2 separate regions of the Homo sapiens genome follow, and region 2 is linked to region 1. The links are contacts of gene promoters, found by promoter capture Hi-C in human tissues and cell types (Jung and others, 2019). All regions are on one chromosome and are shown on one strand. Each heading gives the region's core, a stretch centred on a gene start or on the middle of the fragment in contact. The rest is flanking DNA. Distances are from core to core; before and after follow the strand shown.

What was found. The method cuts DNA at HindIII sites, captures the fragments that hold promoters and counts their contacts. A contact is called where the count stands out against the background at its distance.
Region 2: a contact is called between a fragment that was not itself captured here and the fragment with the promoter of SHB in region 1, in 2 of the 25 tissues and cell types used here (heart left ventricle and thymus).

What each region holds. Positions count from the first base shown.
Region 1 is chr9:38,065,091-38,071,951 of GRCh38, forward strand. It overlaps SHB (SH2 domain containing adaptor protein B), which reads right to left and starts at 4,137. Exons shown (of 6, transcript NM_003028.3): 1 at 2,839-4,137. The coding sequence starts at 3,555. It overlaps LOC105376039 (a long non-coding RNA gene), which reads right to left. Exons shown (of 4, transcript XR_007061483.1): 4 at 6,337-6,461. RefSeq lists an enhancer at 2,574-3,377 and silencers at 3,268-3,317, 3,738-4,547. The HindIII fragment of the contact is 6,868 bases long and covers 1-6,835 here.
Region 2 is chr9:37,791,182-37,798,042 of GRCh38, forward strand. LOC105376037 (a long non-coding RNA gene) reads right to left here. Exons shown (of 3, transcript XR_929599.3): 3 at 1-61. Among named protein-coding and RNA genes, the nearest start is that of DCAF10, 6.2 kb to the right of the region's middle. The HindIII fragment of the contact is 4,652 bases long and covers 299-4,950 here.

The DNA.
Region 1 (6,861 bases), core at 2,887-5,386:
AGTGAGACCTCTAACAATAGATAAAGACTAAATGAGGTGCCAGAAGTGGTTTTCCTGGATCCATGAGTGAGGGGCAGAAGGAAGGCCGGATCTACAGTGTGCCTGGCCTCCCAAAAGCTGTCTGGCTGGAAATAATGTGAAAACAACTGCTTCCTGACTGCCTGATGGGGTGGAGGTGGAGGGGTGCTGGCCCAGGATCAGGAGGTAGCCACACACAGATGGCAGAAACAAGGGCATCCAGAGTCTCTGCATCCCAAGGCTGCCCTGACCAGAAGACCCAGAGGGACAGTTAAGGAGAAGCCACTGTTGCATGAGTGGTTTTCAAACCATGGTCCCAGGACCCTCAGCCATTTCCCCTCAACCTGGGAAATGATGGAATGCAAACACTCAGGTCCCCCACCAGGCATGCTCAATCAGACGCTGCAGGATGGGCCCCAGCAATCTGTTGTAACCAGCCCTATAGGTGCACTAAAGTTTGAGGATCGCTGCACTATAACGTCCTGCTGAGCCTCCCTGGCTGCCTCCTCCCTCCTGGGTAGAAAGAACATCTGGACAACTTCTCAAAAGATCAAAGGTCTCGCAGTCACAACCTAGTAGGTGAAAAGTAACCCAGAGAGATCTTCTAAAAAACCATATCTGATCACAACACTCTCGCAGCTAAATCCCTTCACAGGCCCCCTCTGTGCTTAGCCTACAAGGTCCTCCCTGACTCAGGCCCTGCCCAACTCTTAACCTCTCAATTTCAGCCACAAGGGACTTCACCTGCAGTTCCCTGAAGCACAGGGTTCTTCTCCAGCCAACCATGGTGACCACCCCTCCCTCACAATAATGGCCCTGCCTCCAAGGTGCACTCCTCGATGCCACACCCCCCAACCTCTCCCTTGCCCTTCATCCCTCCTGTAACCCTGTAACACGAGGTCTCATCATAGCACTCATCACCATCACGCCACTATGGCCTCTGTCATAGCATTCGCTGCAGAGGGTCCCTGCTCCAGCACCCAGCAGGGGAGGACACAGAGAAGACCCGTAAGAAATATCTGGTGATGAAAAGAGTCAAGTCTTAAATATCTTGACATCCTGGCTATAAAACAAATCATTCCTTAGTGTTTGAAACAGTCTTAACTGTAACTGGGAAAAAATGTTTACTGAAGTTTTGAACCACTAGCAGTGGAAGAGAAAGGAGATCTGCCCACCTGGGGTGTGGCTGCAGGGTAACAAGGAGGATGCATAAAGTCCAGTGCAGTTAGCCGTGACCCTCTCGTGCCTTTTATATACAAGACCTCCAGGTTTCCCCAGTGCCTGCACCAAGCCAAGCTTCAGCCATGCATAAGACTGCACGGAGCCTATCTGGTGTTTCCCTCACTGACCAAACACAGGCCCAGGGTCCTGGTGGCTCCCAGGGAAATCTGCCCCCTCTCCCAAAGCAGCTCCTAGGTAGCCACCTGGCTCCCAGCTAGTCGTCATCTAGGTGTGGCATCCTAGGTGCTTTAGAAACCCAGAGTCCAAGCTTCCGAGGGGTGCCCCAAACTGCCTCCAGGGAGAGGTGGGATCTTCCACGGACTGCCCATGCAGATCAAACAGGGGAGGGGATATTCTGGGGACCTCGGGGAGGGGAGGCCAGGCAGAAAAACTAGAGGGACATTCCCTTCCTCCTCTCTCCTGGCAAACAAAAAAGATCCCTTTCCAAGCACCAGATGGCAGGTAAGAGCCTGTCTCCCTCCTGTCTGGACATCCAGTCCTAAAAGGAACTCAGACTCTTAATCAGTCTCCCCCAGCCCAGGCCTGGGCAAAGGTTTACCTTTGGGGGAAGAAGGTGGGGAGAACAACAGCCACGCACCAGGGCGCTGAGAAGGAAGGAGCTCTCCCACCGGGCCTCAGATTTAATCAAAACACTGCCTTCCACCAGAAGACAGAACAAGTATTATTTTATGGGGGAAGGGAGGGCTTCACAGGAGTGTGAAGGGGGAGGAGGGGACCTAGTCTGGCTGTAATTAACTCGTCTGCTTCAAAGGGAGGAATCTAGGTGGCCTAATGCGTTAGGAAGGGGGCTGTCACAAAGTCCCCCCGTGTTCCTGGGACCTTATGGGGTAGGGGTGAGGTCAGGAAGGAAGCAGGTGAGGATAGGAGGGGTGGGGTCTCCTTCCAGCCGGGCCTGATAGGCTGACCCCCTCCCGCGCGCAGCGGGAGGAACTGACGGGTTCGATGAGGAGCGCTCTTGCAGGCAGCGCATTTCAACCGGAAAAGCACGCGTGGAGGTTCCCGGAGCAGCTCCGGTACCAGGCAGCCCGGATTTGGAAACCTAGAGCTGGGGGTGGGGCAGGGCAGGGCCGGGCAGGGCAGCCGCGAGAGATTTACATATACACGCTGGAGACAGCCGGTCCGGATCTGCCACCAAGAAAGCTGTGTAATATTGGGCGAGTCCCTTCCTTGCTCTGGACCTCAGTTTCCCACCTACAGCGTGAGCGGAGGGTGGAGGCTGGGATAAGGGGTGTCAGGAGTCAAAGCTCTTCGAAGTCCTAGACAGCTCTGACTCTGACTTTACTCCTTGGCAGCCAGAAGGACTGACTGGGTCCGTCTTCCTGGGGCAAGGCTGGGCCGGGCGCTCTCGCTCAGAGGGGACGTTCTGGAAGCAGCGGCGAAAGAGGTGGGGTCAGGAGGCCGCCGGTCCCAGGAAAAGGGCGCGGGAGGAGGCAGAAGCGGGAAGCAGCACGCCAGCCCCGACCCAGGGTCCTAGGCCGAAGCTGAAGTAGAGACTCAACACCAGAGCGGCGGGTGCCTCGGTTTCCCCGTGCGCACCGTGGCTCTGGAACCTCGGGAAGAGGCCAAGGGGCACCTTACCTTGTCCTTCTTGCCGGCCCCGCTCTCCTCCGCGGCTGAGGCGGCGCACTTGTTGAGCAGTTTCTTGCCTCCGCAGGCCGTCGGGCTCCAGGTGCGGCCGCCCGCGCAGGCGCCCCCCAGGGGGTCCCCGGCCCCACCGCCCGCGGCGCTCTCCACTTTGATGAGGCGGTGCTTGGGGGAGATGTAGCGCACCTCGGCCGGCGTGGCGGGCCGCCGCTCGCTGCTGCTGCGGTAGAGATGCGGAGAGCCGGAGGACGAGGACGAGGACGCGGCGGCCCCCGCGCCCGAGGAGGCGCAGCAACAGCCCGCGGCGCCCGACGCGGACGAGGCCGAGAAGGCGCGCTGGACCCCGCCTGGCTCCCCGCTGCCGCCGCAGTAGTCCAGGCGGCACATGGCGCGCAGTTTGCGCAGCGACGAGCCAGGCCCGTTGTAGGGGTCCTCGAAGTCTCGCTCCTTCTGCGCGCGGTAGGCGCGGATGAGGTCGCTGGTGCTGCCGCTGTCGTCGGGCAGCGAGCCCGAAGAGGCTGAGAAGCAGGAGGCGGTGGCCGGACCGCAGGACGCCGAGGCGGCGGAGGAGGCCTGCGGCACGGCCTGGGGGGGCTGCGAAGGCCGCTCGCCTCGGCGCCGCTGCTCGCGGTAGTCTGGCCGCGGCGGCTGCGGGGGGCTCTTGGTCTTGCTGTTGCCCAAGCTGAAGTACTTGTTTAGCCACTTGGCCATGGCGAGAGGCCGCCTAGGGCCGCGGCGCGGGAGCCCGGTCCGCCGCCGCGGCCATTCGGGGGGCAGCGCTGCGGCGCAGGTCCCTCGGCGCCCCGGCCCCGGCGGGGGGCGTCCGGGGCGCCCGCTCCCGACGCCAAGTTCAAGTTCTTGCCGCCGCCGCCTCCTGCCGGCAGCTCTCTGGCTCCGGCGGCTGCAACACCTCCCTCCGCCTAGCGCCGCCCAAGCTAGGAATCTCGCGCCCCTCGTGGGCGCGTCTCATGGGGTCCCGGCCCACGCCCGGGGGAGAGCGGAAGGTCCGAGCGCTCCACGCCGCGGACCCTTTGGCCGTACGCCCCTCGCCGTGGATCGCGCTCCTGCCCCGTCGGAGCCGCAGCCTCCGCCTTGGCCGGGATCCGCGGCTGCCGCGGGAACTTCTCGGCGTCCTCGGCTCCCTTCTTCCTTCCTGCGAGCGCTGGGGAGAGCTCGGCCCCGCAGCGGAGGAGAATGCGGCCGGGAGAGACAGCGAGCGACGGAGGAAGGCAGCCGGCGCCCGCCGGAGCCCGCGCGCCCGTGCCCGTCCCGGCGGCGCCTGTCGCTGCCACTGCCGCCGCCTCCCGAGCCGCCGCGTGTGTGACACTCAGGCCGCCAGAGCCCGCCCCGCGCCGCCGCCCCGCCCCCCCGGAGCCCGCTCGCGCGCCCCGCCCCCCGCCCGCTCCCGCAGACCCAGCACCGCCCATCCCCGCGAGCCTGGCCCCGGGCCGCGGCCCAAGCCCCGCCCCCCTCGCGCCCGGGGCCGGGGTGGGCGCACCTCTCCGCTCCTGCACACGCCACCTCCCGCGGCTGCCCTGGCGCCAGCACCAGGGTCTTGCCCCAGGGCGCTGGGGTCCCGCCGCGCAGCCGGCTCCACCTAGCTTGCAGCTCGCCGCCGCCTCGGGCGAGAGGTTGCCTGGCGGAGCCTGCTACGCGCAGAGGCCAAACCTTTCCGCAGTCCCCCGGGACCCCGCGCGTTGTTCACTCCAGGGATCCCCCTGTCGGGGTTGAGGAGGGAGAGTGGATTAACACGGAACCTGTCTAGTTTACAGCGTGGCCCGTGTGGAGGAAATGCAGTGCCTAGTGCCCTTAGGGACAGAGTGGCTGTCCCTCTTCCTTAAAGGGACAGACTCCGGTTCAGCCCCGTGCGCCAGGTCTTCGGAGGAATCTTTATGCTAATGAGTGTATTAGCAGTCCAGATGACGGATGTGGTCGGGATAGGCGGTGGGAGCCGGGCCCAGCACCAATCCGAGAGCAAGGCTAGGGGAGGTCGGAATGTTTGCTTACCTTTTCACCTCTGAGGAAGTCGAGGCTTTAGCCCTGTTCGCTGCCAGCCGGCGGGGAGCAAGTTGTGGGAACATTTAATGCCTTATGTTGTAGGAGCTGGCAAGGATCCATTTAATACAGGACCTCGGCCGGGTGCGGTGTCTCACGCCTGTAATCCCAGCACTTTGGGAGGCCGAGGCGGGTGGATCACGAGGTCAGGAGTTTAATACCAGCCTGGCCAAGATGGTGAAACCCCGTCTCTACTAAAAATACAAAAATTAGCCGGGTGTGGTGGCGGGTACCTGTAATCCCAGCAGCTACTCGGAAGGCTGAGGCAGAGAATTGCTTGAACCTGGGAGGCAGAGGTTGCAGTGAGCCGAGATCACACCACTTCACTCCAGCCTGGGCGACAGAGGGAGATTCCGTCTCAAAAAATAAATACAGGACCTCATTTTACAGATGGAGAAACTGAGGCCCAGAGGAAAGTCACACAGGTGGACTTGGATGCCAGTTCCTAAGTCGGGTGGCACCATAATTATGTCTTTTCCAAGAGTCTCTTCTTTGCGATTTCAGATCATCCTTTGATTATTAACCAAAATTGAGGAAACAGTCCCAGGGAGTGGCCTGATTTGGTCAGTGTAACTTTTCCTGGGATCTGCACCCAGGGGAGGTGGCATGCTCCCTGTTGAGAGGGAAATGCTGCCTAAAGATGAAGTAGCTGCCACTAGGGCCTGGTGCTGCTTTGAATTTGCCTGGGCAACCCTCAAAATGTGACTTAACTCTAAGATGTGGGCACCTGAGAGCTGAGAAATTCTCTAAGAATGTTGATTTACTAAAACAATAGCCCAAATCAATAATCTGCATTTGCTGTCTGTCTGTTATAGATGTGCTTTGGGGGAGTCTGTTTTTCCCATATCCTGTAGTAACAGTGGGAACTGTGAGGGCAGACAGCAAGGCCAGGGGCTCTTTTGATCACATCATAGTTCTGGCCACGCTGGAAGTAGAGGTCAAACTCAGATTTCAATCTGAGACATTTGGACAGGGAAGGCCTGAGAGCTGTTACTGCTTCCTCTCTGTAACCCACCCAGACTCATGCCTGAGGCCACAGCACAGAAGTGATAGAAGCAGGACTTGAACTCGGTCTTATCCTGAAGCTGACCTCTGTCTGCTCAGCCATACACAGTGGTAAAGTGAAATTGACTTCAAATTTGTTATTCCAGAATCAAGCTATTTGCCCTTTCCCTCCTTGGTCAGACAAAACTGTCATCCTCTGTGGCCAGTTGAATTTTCCAAACCCACTATGTGACGTCTCACAGTCGCAGATACTATCACCAGCTACAGAGCATCTTCATTGCCTGAGATCTATTTACTTAGCATTTCACAGGAAATAATCTAAGGGATGTGTGTGTGTGTGTGTGTGTGTGTGTGTGTGAGAGAGAGAGAGAGAGAGAGAGAGAGAGAGAGAGAGATGTGATGTGTCTGGGGCATGCAGAGAGGACCCAGAAGTTGACCTGGCTAGGATGTTTATTTTGAATATACCTAGACTTAAGTATCTCCGTTACCCTTTAAATTGTTCCTCTGTCGCATTGGCACTTAATTATCTTGCACGTAAGGAGGCCCCAGTAGAAAACCTGAAAGGCAAGGACATCCTTGTTTTAAGCCCCACCTTTCATCCAACCACAAATCCTCCCCAGCTCCCTTCCTTCCCATTTCTACTTCTGGGCTCAGATCCTGGCAATAGGCCAGGCCACCTGAGACAAGAAAGTCCTCACCAGAATCTGGAAGCTTGCTCCCTGCATGTGTCTTGCACATGGAAAGGTTATCTCTGCCTTTTCCAAAAGTTCAGGAAGAGAAGTTATATTTCATAACTTATTTTTTCCATGTCACTTTCATCAGGCCGTAGAGTCGGATCCACTTTTCCATGTGATACCTCTGCTGGGGTATAATTTGCAAGCCAGAATTATTGTAATGCTATAGTATTATGCCAAGAACTTCCAGAGCACTTGTGTATCTGCTCAACCCTTAGACACT
Region 2 (6,861 bases), core at 1,375-3,874, 280 kb before region 1:
GCACAACTGGACCAGGAAGCAAAACCCATTCCTCCTGAAACGCCTCTTCAGGGCCTTCTACCTATAAAGCATATCATCACGAAAGAGAACAAAGGAAAAAAAATTTAAGGCTCAGATCCATTTTCTCAGAGCAGTCAGTGAAGGATGAATTTGGACCTGAGAGACAATACATTGATAACTGGCACAAGGTCTCATGAGGTGGTGTATTAGTCCATTTTCATGCTGTTGATAAAGACATACCCAAGACTGGGAAGAAAAAGAGGTTTAATGGACTTACAGTTCCACATGGCAGGGGAGGCCTCACAATCATGGCGGAAGGCAAGGAGGAGCAAGTCATGGATGGTAGCAGGCAAATAGAGAGCTTGTGCAGGGAAACTCCCATTTTTAAAACCATCCAATCTTGTGAGACTTATTCACTATTCTGAGAACAGCACAGGAAAGATCTACCCCATAATTCAATCACCTCCCACCAGGTTCCTCCCATGACACATGGGAATTGTGGGAGTTACAATTCAAGATGAGATTTGTGTGGGGACACAGCCAAACCATATCAGGTGGTAATATCAAACTCATCAGTAATAGCAATAAGGTAGAGTCTGCCCATTCCCAGATGGCTTCACTGGTGAACTATACCAAACATTTAAATAAGAATCAATACCAGTTATCACAAACTCTTACAAAAAACAGAAGAGGAGGGAACACATCCCAATTCATTTGATGAGGCTAGTATTACCCTGATATCAAAACTAAAGACATCACAGGAAAAGGAAACTATCCTTTTCCTTTATGAATCAATATCCTTTATGAATACAGACACAGAAATCTTCAACAAAACACTAGCAAACTGAATCCAGCAACATATAGAAAGGACTGTATACTGTGACCAAGTGGAATTAATCCCAAGTATGCAAGGTCTTTTAACATCTGAAATCAATTAATGTATTATGCCATCTCAATAGATGCAGAAAAAGCGTTCGAGAATGTCTAACACCCTGTCGTGATTTAAAAACAAAAACAAAACCAAACCTCAATAAATAAGATTAGAAAAGAACCTCCTCCATTTGATAAAAGGCATCTATGAAAAACCCACAGATAACACTTAATAGTGAAAGACTGAAAGCTTTGCACTTAAGATCGGGAATAAGACAAGGAAGTCTGCTCTTGCCATTTCCATTCAACATTATACTGGGGGTTCTGTCCAGGGTAATTTGGTAAGTAAAAGCAATAAAAGATATCTAGATAGGAAAGGAAAAATTAAAACCATCTATATTTGCACGTGATGTGATCTGGTATATAGAAAATCCTAAGGCACCCACCCACCCACACAAACACACACACACACACAAAACCATTAGAACTAACACTAACAAGTTCAGCAAGTTTATAGGATATACAAAAATTAATTATATTTCTGTACCCTTGAAATGAACAACCCAAAAATAAAACTTCAAAAATAATTCCACTATATAGCATCAAAGAAAAGAAAATATTTGGGAATTAATTCAACAAAAGAAATGTCAAACTTTTTTTTTTTTTTTTTAATTTGTAGAGATGGGAGTCTCACTATGTTGCTCAGCCTGATTTTGAACTTCTGGGCTCAAGCAATCCTCACATTCAGCCTCCCAAAGTGTTGGGATTGCAGGCATGAGCCATTGTGCCCGGTCAGAAATGTCAAACTTAAACTCTGAAAACTACAAAATATTATTAAAGGAAATTAACAAAGATCTAAATAATTGAAAAGGCACCCCATCCCATTTTCATGGTTCAGATGATTTAATATTATTAATAGGAGGTCATGGGAGGATGACTGCTTGAGCCCAGGAGTTCCTGACCACCCTAGGCAACAAAGTGAGACCATATCTCCACAAATAACAATAATTTAAAAAAAAATTGCTAAGATAACACTATTCCCAAAATTGAAATACAGATTCAATCCAATTTTTCTCAAAATCCCAACTGCCTTCATTGCAAAAAATGACAAATTGCTCCTAAAGTTTGTATGGAAATTCAAGAGACTCAGAATAGCCAAAATAATCTTGAAGAAGAACAAAGTTCTTCTTTTGTGAGAACAAAATAACTTATATTTCTGATTGCAAAACTTACTACAAGGCTACAGTAATCAAGACAATGTTGTATAGGTATAAGGATAGATATAGATTAATGGAATAGAATTAAGATACAGAAATAAAACTTCATCTTCAGCTAAAAGTTGAGAGATGGGAAAAAATATTTTTTTAAAACCCTTTATGCTTACAATCAGCTGATTTTTTACACAGGTGCCAAGACAATTCAATGGGGAAAGAATAATGTTTTCAATACATGGTGTAAGCACAACTGGATATACACATGCAAAAGAATGAAGTTGGATCCCTATCTTAAACTATATAAAAACATTAAATGATTGAAAGGCCTAAATCTCAGAACTAAAATTATAAAACTCTTAGAAGAAAATGCAGAGGCAAATCTTTGTGACCTTGGATTTGACAGTGGTTTCTTAGATATTATACCACCAGAAGCACATTCAGGAAAAAATTGAAAAATCTGACTTTATCAAAATTAGAACAGATAACTCACTGAATAGGAGAAAATATTTAAAAATTATATGTCTGATAAGGGACATGTATCTAGAATATATAAAGAACTTTACTACTCAATAATAAAAAGATAGATGACCCAATTTAAAGGTGGGCCAAGGATCCAAACAGACATTTATTCAAAGAAGATATATGAACAACCAAGAAGCATATGAAAAGATACTCAGTATCATTAGTCATCTGGGAAATTCAAATTAAATCACAATGAGATATCACTTCACCTCCACTAGGATGGCTACAATCAAAAAGACATTATAACCAGTGTTGTGGATATAGAAATTTCAGAACACTCATCTTGCTGGTAGAATTATAAAATGGTACAGCCACTTTGAAAACTGAAAAACAGTTTTGCAGCTTCTTAAAAAGTTAAACATAAAGTTACCATATAACATAGCTATTCCAGCCAGGGGTGTGGTGGCTTATGCCTGTAATCCCAGCACTGTAGAAGCCTGGGCAGGATGATCACTTGAGCCCAAGAGTTTGAGATCAGCCTGAGTAACAGAGACCCCATCTCTGAAAAGAGAAGGGACGGGAGGGGAAGGGAGGGGAAGAGAGGGGAATGGAAGGGGGGGAGGGAGGAGGAAAGAGAGGGGAGGGGAGGGAAGGGAAGGGAGAAAGAAAGAAAGGCAGGCAGACAATTCTACTTCTAGGATATACCCAAGAAAATTGAAAGCTTATGTTTACACAAAAACTTAGACATGAATGTTCATAGCATAATGATTAATAATAGCCAAAAGTATAAGTAATGCAAATGTCCAGCAACTGATAAGTGAATAAACAAAGCATGGTATATCATACAATAGAATATTATTTAAACCTAAAAGGGACTAAATGTGCTACAATGTAAAATTAATCTAGAAAATATTACGCTAAGTAAAAGGCCACATATTGTATTATTCCATTTACATGAAATGCCTTCAAACCATGGAGATAGAAAGTTGATATTTAGTTGCCAGAGGCTGGAGAGACGGGTCAGTGAGAGTCATTGTTTCACGGGTACAGAGTTTCAGTCTGGGAAGATGAAAAAGTTCTGGATATGGATGGTGGTGATGGATGCACAACAATGTGAATGTACCTAATATCACTGAACTGTATATCTAAAAATGATTAAAATGGTCAATTTTATGTTTATATATATTTTACCACAATAAAGAATTATTTTCACAGAAAAAGGAGAGAGAGAGAGAGATGAATTGAATGTGGCAAAATCCTAATAATGGAATCTAGATGATGGGCATATAGTTATTTTTTTAAATACTCTTCTCTCTAATTTTGTTTGAAAATTTTTCATAACTAAAAACATAATATGGAGACAGGCAAAATAGGTGTCTTCTTGATGACAATTCAGCCTGATGGGGCAAATATATGGAAAAACTTGTTGCAAAACAAATAACAAACACAGCTTTGACCATGCCTTTCTCCTGCCTGAAAGCCCTCTGAGAGCATCGTATCACCTACAGGGAAAAAAGACTCTCTGTGACCCTCTCCTCTGCTCACCTTGCCACCTCATCCTGCTTCTCCCTGACTTCCATTTCTTGAGCAACACCAAATCCCTTGTAAATTTCCCAAACATGCCCTGATCTGTGCCATTCTTCATGCCATGTATGCACCCTGCTTAACAATCCAGTCTCCCTCCCTCTGCTTAACCTCTCCTTAAAAACTGGCTTGATCACCAGCTCCTCCAGGGAGTATCTTCTGACCCTCTGCTGAACTGTCCCTCATCTGTGTTTCCATAGCTCACTGTCCATAATTTGTCATAGCATCAAACACACCAGATTCAGACTACCAAATTTGTGCAAATGCACATACACACTCAGATCCCAAGAACCTAGAAACCGGTATATCAAAGGCATAGTGTGAATTCTGTGAAGGAGTTTCTGTACCAGGGAAAGCTCCACTAACTTTTAAACTTGCTAGGTATTTCTCCAGCTTTATGAACATTTAATGTCAGATATCCCTGCAGAGACCACTTAAAAGTTTACTTTTGCTCTAGGCTGAAAACAGTATACCTGAGGAAAAACAGTAACATGACTTACACCTTAGAAAATATCCACTTTTAGTTTTCGCCTAAATAGTGCAGGTAATTTTGAGTCTACAAGGCTTCTGAAAAAGAGCAGGGGATGCCAGGTGCTTGGGAGTGGGGGTTGAAGGGTGGAAATGGGACTTCATGCCTAAGTATACGAATTTCAGTTTGAGAAGATGAAAAAATTCCTACCCATTGCACCCTCCAGTTCCCATCCGAAAAGACAACCACCTTCATCTACAGCTCTTTTCTCTGCTATTTTACCTCAATGTTTAAATATAATACACTGATATTGCTTGATTTCTTAATTTTAAGAGAATGTGTTGACTTCCTGACAAGGTAGATGTGGTTTTGGCTCTTCCTATTTCCACACTCTTCATCCCTCCCTCTCCACGCTTTGCTAACACACGGCATAGTTACAGCACAATTTCTGGTTAAATCAGAAGCCATTTTTTACAATATTACCAGTGCAAATATTGTTATCTGCCTTGACAGATTGTACATTTTATGCAATCCTTTATTTTTCATGGAGTTGGTGATTGCCTCGTTTCAGTCCATTGTTTGTTATTCTATATACTTTGTTAATTTCTTCCACTATTCTGGCATTGGAGTCTTTTGCCTCGCCTTAATAGATTGCAACATTCCATTTCCATTTTTCCTCTGGAGACTTCCCACTCTGTGCTCCTCCCACTTTGGGGGGGCTGCTCTTCAGGCCTGCTGCACAGCTGTCTTTTCTTTAATTGTGGTAAAATATGCATAACAAAATTTATCATCTTAACAATTTTTACATGTACATTCAGTACATACACAGTGTTAAGTGTATTCATACTGTTGTGCAGCCATCACCACCATCCATCTCCAGAACTCTTCTCATCTTGCAAAACTGAAATTCTGTACCCATGAAACAATACCTCCCCATCCCCACCTCACCCTAGTGCCTGGCATCCACCATTCTTCTTTCTGTCTCTGTGAATTTGACGACTCTAGGTACTGCATAGAAGTGGAAACATACAGTATATATATCCTTTCGTGACTGGCTGATTTCACTTGGCATAATATTCTCAAGGTTCATACACGTTGTAGCATGTGTCATATTTCCCTCCCTTTTTGTACACCTGTCTTTTATACCTTCCTGCACTGCTCTCCTTCTTAGATCCACTTAGATCACTTTTATTCCACTTTCTTGCTTTACCTGTCCATTTTGCTAGAGGTCCATAACCTCCGGTATCTTCTTAAATAAAGAGAATATGAGGCTGGGCACAGTGGCTCACGCCTGTAAAACAGAGTGACTCTGTCTTTTCTCAAAGATCTACTGATGGCCACACAAGGCATCTCCTTGCTGTGTTAGGTATATCATCCTATGTCCTATTTCTTGTGGCATCATTGAGCCCACAGCAGGCCTCATTTTGAACTTCCACATGTGGCATTTTTTGAAAAATCTGTAGCTGTGGCAATACTGAGCTTGCATTTCCTCGTAGTTGCCAAGTTATGGCTGCCCCCAGTAAAGGGAAATTTAGAGACAATGCTTGCAAAGCTCCTACCAATAAGCCTGGTGAAGCACTTACTCAACAAATGGAAGTTGTTCTTTTTCATGGGATTACAGTTATTCAAAGGTTCAGAATTTAAAAGTGTTCAGAAGAAAAGGGGAGCCAGACCTGATATTTGTAGATTGGCTTAGATTTGGAGGTTTTTAAAAAATACTATTGAGTTGCCATCCTTGGCAAGGAGCTTGTATGTACAGCGATAGCTATAGATCCAAGCCAATCTACAAATGTGTGTGTAGCACCTGGTTACGAGCATGGAACCTGGAGCTAGATTGCCTGGATTTGAATCCTGGCTTTACCACTCTCAGGCTGACTTTTCTTTTTTGTGTCTGTGTTTTCTCATCTCTAAAATGGGGATAATAATCGTACCAACATACCTTGAGTTTTGAGTTAATATATATGAACCAGCTTAGCATAATATTAGGCACATACTAAACATTATATGAATGTTTGCTTATTATTTTTCAATAAGCTTATATGATAGGATCACTTAACTCAGCATAATATTAGGCATATACTAAACATTATATGAACATTTGCTTTTTATTTTTCAATAAGCTTATATGATAGGATCACTTTACTCAGCATAATATTAGGCATACACTAAACATTATATGAATGTTTGCTTTTTATTTTTCAATAAGCTTATATGATAGGATCACTTTACTCCTTGAGTACATTGTTTTCTTTGGGCTACAGA